Linked DNA regions of Homo sapiens: region 2 is linked to region 1. The links are contacts of gene promoters, found by promoter capture Hi-C in human tissues and cell types (Jung and others, 2019). All regions are on one chromosome and are shown on one strand. Each heading gives the region's core, a stretch centred on a gene start or on the middle of the fragment in contact. The rest is flanking DNA. Distances are from core to core; before and after follow the strand shown. Region 1 holds the start of TMEM70 (transmembrane protein 70). Region 2 overlaps PI15 (peptidase inhibitor 15).

Region 1 (3,272 bases), core at 390-2,889:
TAAATGCAACACCTTTTCAAAAAATAAATACATTTAGCTGGTGTAATGGAACACGTCTATAGCCCCAGCTACTGGGGAGGCTGAGGTGGATCACTTGAGCCCAGGAGTTTAAGGCCAGCCTGGGCAACATGGCAAGACCCCATCTCTAAGAAATAAAATTTAATTTTACTAAAATAATTTAAGTAAAATACTCCGCAAACTCACATTATATTTAAAGTCCAGGCCTTTTACAAATACTGCTAAAATATTTATATGATAGTATTAAAGAGATCAAATCTTTCTCTAAAGACCTTGTAAATACCGTGTATCCCCTGGTCCTCTTATTTCTTGACAAGAAATAAAATTTGGCTGGGCACAGCGGCTCACGCCTGTAATCCCAACCCTTTGACAGGCCGAGGCAGGAGGATGATTTGAGGTCAGGAGTTTAAGACGAGCCTGGCCAACACGGTGAAACCCCGTCTCTACTAAAAATACAAAAAAAAAATCAGCCGGGGTGTGGTGGAGCGCGCCTGTAATCCCAACTACTGGGGAGGCTGAGGCAGGAGAATCGCTTGAACCCGGAAGGCGGAGGTTGCAGTGAGCCAAGATCACGTCACTGCACTCCAACCAGGGTGACAGAGCGAGACTTCACCTCCAAAAAAAAAGAAATAAAATTTACTTGAAATCCTACATCAAATTTCAAGGGAACAGAAGCGTTCCCCATACATCTGAAAATGAGTTTCACAGTGTATACACTTCAAAATGTAAAAGGCATGCCTAATTCCTCAATGCTGAAATGTAATTAGATTCCAATTTCCATTTTAAGCATTTCTTCCAAGTTTTAACCAGGTTTGCCAATCCTGATATTTTACAGAGTAGAATTAGAAGACAATTTATTCAGATCAAAATAAAAGAATTAACATCTGCATCCCCCTTTTCCCAGGGACCAAAGTAATTCTTAAAAGTACAGCCACCTCATAAAAGTAGAACAAGCTCAAAGTCAGGTTAACCTGGCTCTTTCGGTTCTATTTCCAGGTGCTGCATCCAATTTTTTGCAAATTAACACTTCTAAGCTTCTACTCAAGGGCAGAAAAGGAACTACATATAGTTGTCACCACAAACCCTCTGGATTTGGAACTACCATAAAAGTAAGCACTTTCCAGCCGTTCTCCTGGACTCGCGGAGGCTGAGGACCCCGGGGCCCTCGGCCTGCTACTTCTGCAAGCCCCGCAGAGGGGGCTCCTCCCGCGCTCCAGCCACGGACACCTGGGAGAGGTCGCGAAGAGCCGCTGGGGCTCCCCAGGCCCGACACGACGCCCGCCCTCCCCGCCTCACTTGGGACACCAGACCTCGGACGCCCTACCTGCGCTCGACCCGGACGCCGGAGAAGGCGCGCGGCTCCCGAAGGCCCCGTACTCCAGCCGGCTACCGGCCCCGAAGGCCCGCTGCTGGAGGACGCCCGGGAGACAGAGGCCCGGGGACCTCGGAGCGCGGCGGCCGCACACAATGCAGTCCTCCTTCCGCAGAGAGGCAGTTCGACCGCCCACGGGCTGCCCAACGCCAGAAACAGCATCACGCGGGTGACGAGCGGCTGCGGACGCCCCAGCTGCACGAGTCCACGACTGCGAGACACGGCTTCCCACCCGACTGCCGCACAAGTGGCGCATGCCCAGCCCGGGACGCCTGACTGGCAGCTGGGCTGCCTGCGCGTGCGCAGAATCTGCCGCCCGCCTGCCGCCCGCCTGCCGCCCGCCTGCCGCCCGCCTGCCGCCCGCCTGCCGCCCGCCTGCCGCCCGCCTGCCGCCTTCCCGGCCGCGCGCGTTATCCGCCAGCTGAGCTGGGAGCCCGCCGCTCTGTCCTTGGCTCAGCGGCTCCTCCTTCCTAGAATTTTACCTTCTTTATAACAGTGTGGAGGGGCAGAGGGCTGTACGAGAATGACAATGCCCAGAAGCCAGGGTTAAATATTTTTTTTTCTCGTGGACGACATCACTAAAAACTGTTTCCTTTGCGGAAAATGATTCTAGCCTGTTGGCACAGAAGAAAGAATATACGATTTGAACAAAAATGAGTGATAACTTAATTGAATCATCGGGTTGGAGGAAAATAAATGGAATTGTTCATGTAATATTGATAGGTGTTACCAGATTTGTCTTCGGAAATCATTCACATCCATATACACATTGATTCATTACTTGTTAAAGAGGTACTGAATCTATTGCCAGGACTGAGCTAGGAGCAGAGGATACAAAATACTAGATTAAACTGGGAATCCACAGTGCTTAAACAGTGGAGGAAAATACCTGAAAATTGGCTAGAATATAATGTAATACAATTGAGACACCGCAATATACAAAATGTGGCTGGCCGTGGTGGCTTACACCTGTAATCCCAGCGCTTTGGGAGGTTTAGGCAGGAAGATCTCTTGAGGCCAGGAGTTTGAGACCAGCCTGAGCAATACAGGGAGACCCCGTCTCTACAAAAAAAAAAAAAAAAAAAAAACCTAAAACAAAAATAAGCCACACATGGTAAGTGTGTGCCTGTGGTCCCAGCTACCCAGGAGGCTGACATGGTAGGATTGCTTGAGCCCAAAGTCGAGGCTTCAGTGAGCCAAGACCACACTACTGCACTCCAGCCTGGACCACAAAGTGACACCGTGTCTCAAAAAAAAGAACAAACAAATGCCACAGAAGTACAAAGAAGAACATGATTAATTTTGCCTCAGAATGTCTTCAGACTGGCTTCACATTTAGCTCAGTCTTGAAGGATGAGCATCTTAGTAATAGAAACACACTTTTGTTTACCACTGCAGAACTATACATGTTTTTGATTTGACATGTTATTTGCACCGGAGAGGAACAAATTCATAGTCTAAAATAATGTGTGGCCAGGGGCGGGAGCTCACGCCTGCAATTCCAATACTACGTGGAGGCCCAGGTGAGAGGATCACTTGATTCCAGGAGTTTGAGACCAGCCTGGGCAACAAAGTGAGACCCTGTCTCTACAAAAAATTTTTAAATTAGCTGGGCATGGTGGCACCTGCCTGTAGTCCCAGCTACTTGGGAGGCTGAGGTGGAAGGATCACTTGAGCCCAAGAGGTTGAGGCTGCAGTGAGCCCTGATTGCACCACTGCACTGAGTGACACAGCTAGACCCTGTCTCAAAAATAAAAATAAAAATAAATCAATAGAATATGATCATGTTGGCAACTCCAAATACTGTCTATTGGGGGGAGTATTCAGAAGGAGATAATGATAATACCTCTATATGGATAACTTTATTTTATAAAAAGTTAGC
Region 2 (3,272 bases), core at 546-3,045, 870 kb before region 1:
ATGGAACTTTCAAATGAATGTTTTCATAAACTTTTTAAATGAATGTTATGGCGCTGCCAAATGAAATTTGTAGGGCAACTCTGCTGCGTGATGGGCCACAGAAGGGATGATACTTAGACAACTGAACAGAAGCAATAACAATAATAACAATAATGGCTTCATCCACATTTTTTGAGCAAACTTATCTGTCATAACCAGAAACATTAAGACTGTGTCTACACAACTCACAGATAATTCTATAATGAAATCCATCAGTTTAATTCTAAAATTATAATTTTTCAGTCTTTTGATGATATGGAAGCCCCAAAACCTATATTGTGAGAATATTAAAATTTTTCTACTGGTCATATAAAAAAATTAACACCACAGAGAGGATCGATGATGTGGAATATGTATGCCAATTACTTTTTTTTTGAATGACACCTTTCCACATGAAAACCTTAATACTGACAATTTAAAGCTGCTTTTATGAAATAGCTTATACCCAGACCATTTCTGCCTCTGGCAATTACAGTAAGAAATAGCTATCCTAGCACCATTGTTGCATGCTGTGAAAAATATGGCAGGCTGTGTTGATACCAGCAAACTTTCATTTGCTTTAGCCTGGAAAATAAAATATTTTACATGGCCACTTTATATTATTAACTTTAAAAAATAGAGTTAGAATAACAAATATACCCGTTATATTTTCAGCTGAGTTGTTAAATTATAAATAAACTTGTAGTTTTTGTCATGGTTTGGAAAGGACTATTGCCTAAGTGTGTAAACCCTGGTCTTAATCTGATATATTTGATGATTTATCTGGATTTTTGATATAATCACAGCTTTATATTTAAGACATTTTTGTCTTAAGCATGGAAAGGTGGGATTTCTGTAAATTGTTGCCATTTTTGGCTTCTTAGTTAATTCTAAAAATCCATTCATATAAGCATTTATTAAACATTTATTATGTTACAGCCACCATTTAAGAAGCTGGGATAAATACAAAGAATTAAACAGAGTTCCTGCCAAAGAGGGGCTCATGAAAAATTTAATTTAATCTCAAATAAGTGTTTTATATTATTAATGATAATTTTAATATTCATAAATTTTTATTAATCTGGTAAATTTACCTTCATAAGAACCCCTGTGAAATATGTAGCAAATATTATTCTTCCTTAGAACTGAAAAGTGAACTCACAGAAGCAATTCAGCAACAAAATTGGAACTTAGTGTAGCCATCTTCTGTTTAATAGTACTTATTGCTGTTCCTGTAGAATGAATATAGTAAAATTGAAGAAGGAAAAACTTTCTAGATAAATCAAGCCAATATTCCATGAATAAGCTTCCCTTTCAATTGTTTAGATATATTAGAAAAAAGTTGGATTAAGACCTAAATAATGTAATTACTTCTATTCTCCATTTTAATCTCCAAAAATATTTATTTTTAGTAGTGTCTACATATGTGCCCACAAAGGCAGAGTAGTATGATATCAAAGCATTTGGTCACCATATTCAATTTATAAGGATAATTGGGCTAGTCATTCATTAACAAGTAGACTCAATCTCCAGATGGTGAGTTTCTTTACCATTGAATGGATTTAACAATCTGTCATCTTTCAAAGTATCCAAATGTGTACAAGAAACTGCAAACGTGTATGGAATTTTAAACAAGTAGCTTCCTTCTGTAATTTGCACTCTGGAACTAACCATATTTAATTGTTCTATAATTCTACGGGAGCATTACACAACCTGAATAAAACACACACACATGTACTTGAAATGCAGTATGTTAAATGTCTGGACTAAGATGTTGTATTCTCCTCTCTGAAAGAGATTTCATGATAGGAAAATGTTGCATTTCCAAACTACATGAGTAAAATTTTCATAGTGACTTTGAATGGATTTCCATAATCAAACTCAATGAAGAACTGAAAATGTTTCTTCTACAGAAACACAGAAATAAAGTTGGTAACTAGCCCTTAGAAAAGCATCTGAAGAAGGCTACTTTAACAAAATCATGACTGTGTGTGGTGTGCACGAAGGATCTTTCATACAATACTCAAAGACCCAAGATGATAAGTAGATTGATTCAATGACAGACTAAACAACAAAGAGATAGAGGTGCCCTCAGCACCTCCACATCTCTTTTTGGAATCCTTTGTCTCCTGCTGAGAGGCCTCAAGATGTACTAGACTCTAAGGATAGCCCATTCTGAAGCTCTCCATCTGGTAGTTAGGCGCAATTACACTTTTCATACCTGTCCACTAAATTTTATTTCTCTTAGACTTCATTGGTTTTCTGAGGGTCTTACTTTCTGTTTTCCAAAGTCACAGCTGTACAATCTGCTCCAGAAATCTTGGCATTTGTTAATTCTTTCCTTCCCCTTCTCATTCCAAGCACTGTAACTAAATTCCCATGAGAAGCAGAAGCTTTATGTATATATTGCACAGCATGGCTTATTACTTGCTCCACCTACAGGTAAATACTGCTGTGTCTGCTTCCTTCAAAAATAATTTTATAGCAAAATCACTAGTCTGCATTATTTCCTGAATACTTTTGTGAGCTTCTTGAGGGCGGGAACCATGTCTAATTATCTCTGCATTATTAGAATATAACTAGCAGAGTGCCTTGCATGTAGTAAGCACTCAACTCATGACGACTGAATGAATAAAATGAGACTAAGCGGAAGGCATGATTTGAGAACTTATATAAGTTGGCATTATCCTTTGGTGGACTCAAATAAGAAAAAATATCTCCAGGGTGAAATTCGTGGTTGCTTAATTGAATTATTATTTCCAGATATCACTAAGTGTTATTTTACAAATTATCATTTCATGGGTATTATAGAAATGTGTGTTAAGAAGTCCCATCACCTCGTATATAATTGAGAATAGTTTTTTAAAAATTTCCCTCAAGTTGACTACTGAATCATATTATCATCTACATGTTACATCACATATTATATGTTTGTGTGCATATATAAATCCATACACATACATATGTATATGTATACATACACACACTTACAGGTCAAATATATATTTACTCCTTAGGAACATAATGATATAATTCCTTTGGAATGTAAGTTTTAGGATTGGATGCATCAACTATGTCATCATTACATATACAATATCTTAATTTAGGCTTAGAGGTCAGAAAATAGAAATTGATGTTTCAAATATTTCAAAGGATTAAACAAACATGCTAGACAAACACTAATTTATACAAAGGAATACTAAGAGGAAAACAAGATTAGCACAAAATATGTATAATATGTGCAAAATTCTCTC

What was found. Contacts are between HindIII fragments. The study calls those that stand out against the background at their distance.
Region 2: a contact is called between a fragment that was not itself captured here and the fragment with the promoter of TMEM70 in region 1, in 1 of the 25 tissues and cell types used here (dorsolateral prefrontal cortex).

What each region holds. Positions count from the first base shown.
Region 1 is chr8:73,974,562-73,977,833 of GRCh38, reverse strand. TMEM70 (transmembrane protein 70) reads right to left here and starts at 1,639. Exons shown (of 3, transcript NM_017866.6): 1 at 1,343-1,639. The coding sequence starts at 1,552. RefSeq lists silencers at 1,291-1,340, 1,506-1,721, 1,771-1,850. The HindIII fragment of the contact is 11,340 bases long and covers 1-3,272 here.
Region 2 is chr8:74,849,320-74,852,591 of GRCh38, reverse strand. It overlaps PI15 (peptidase inhibitor 15), which reads right to left. Exons shown (of 6, transcript NM_015886.5): 6 at 1-3,272. Among named protein-coding and RNA genes, the nearest start is that of PI15, 26 kb to the right of the region's middle. The HindIII fragment of the contact is 3,820 bases long and covers 1-3,272 here.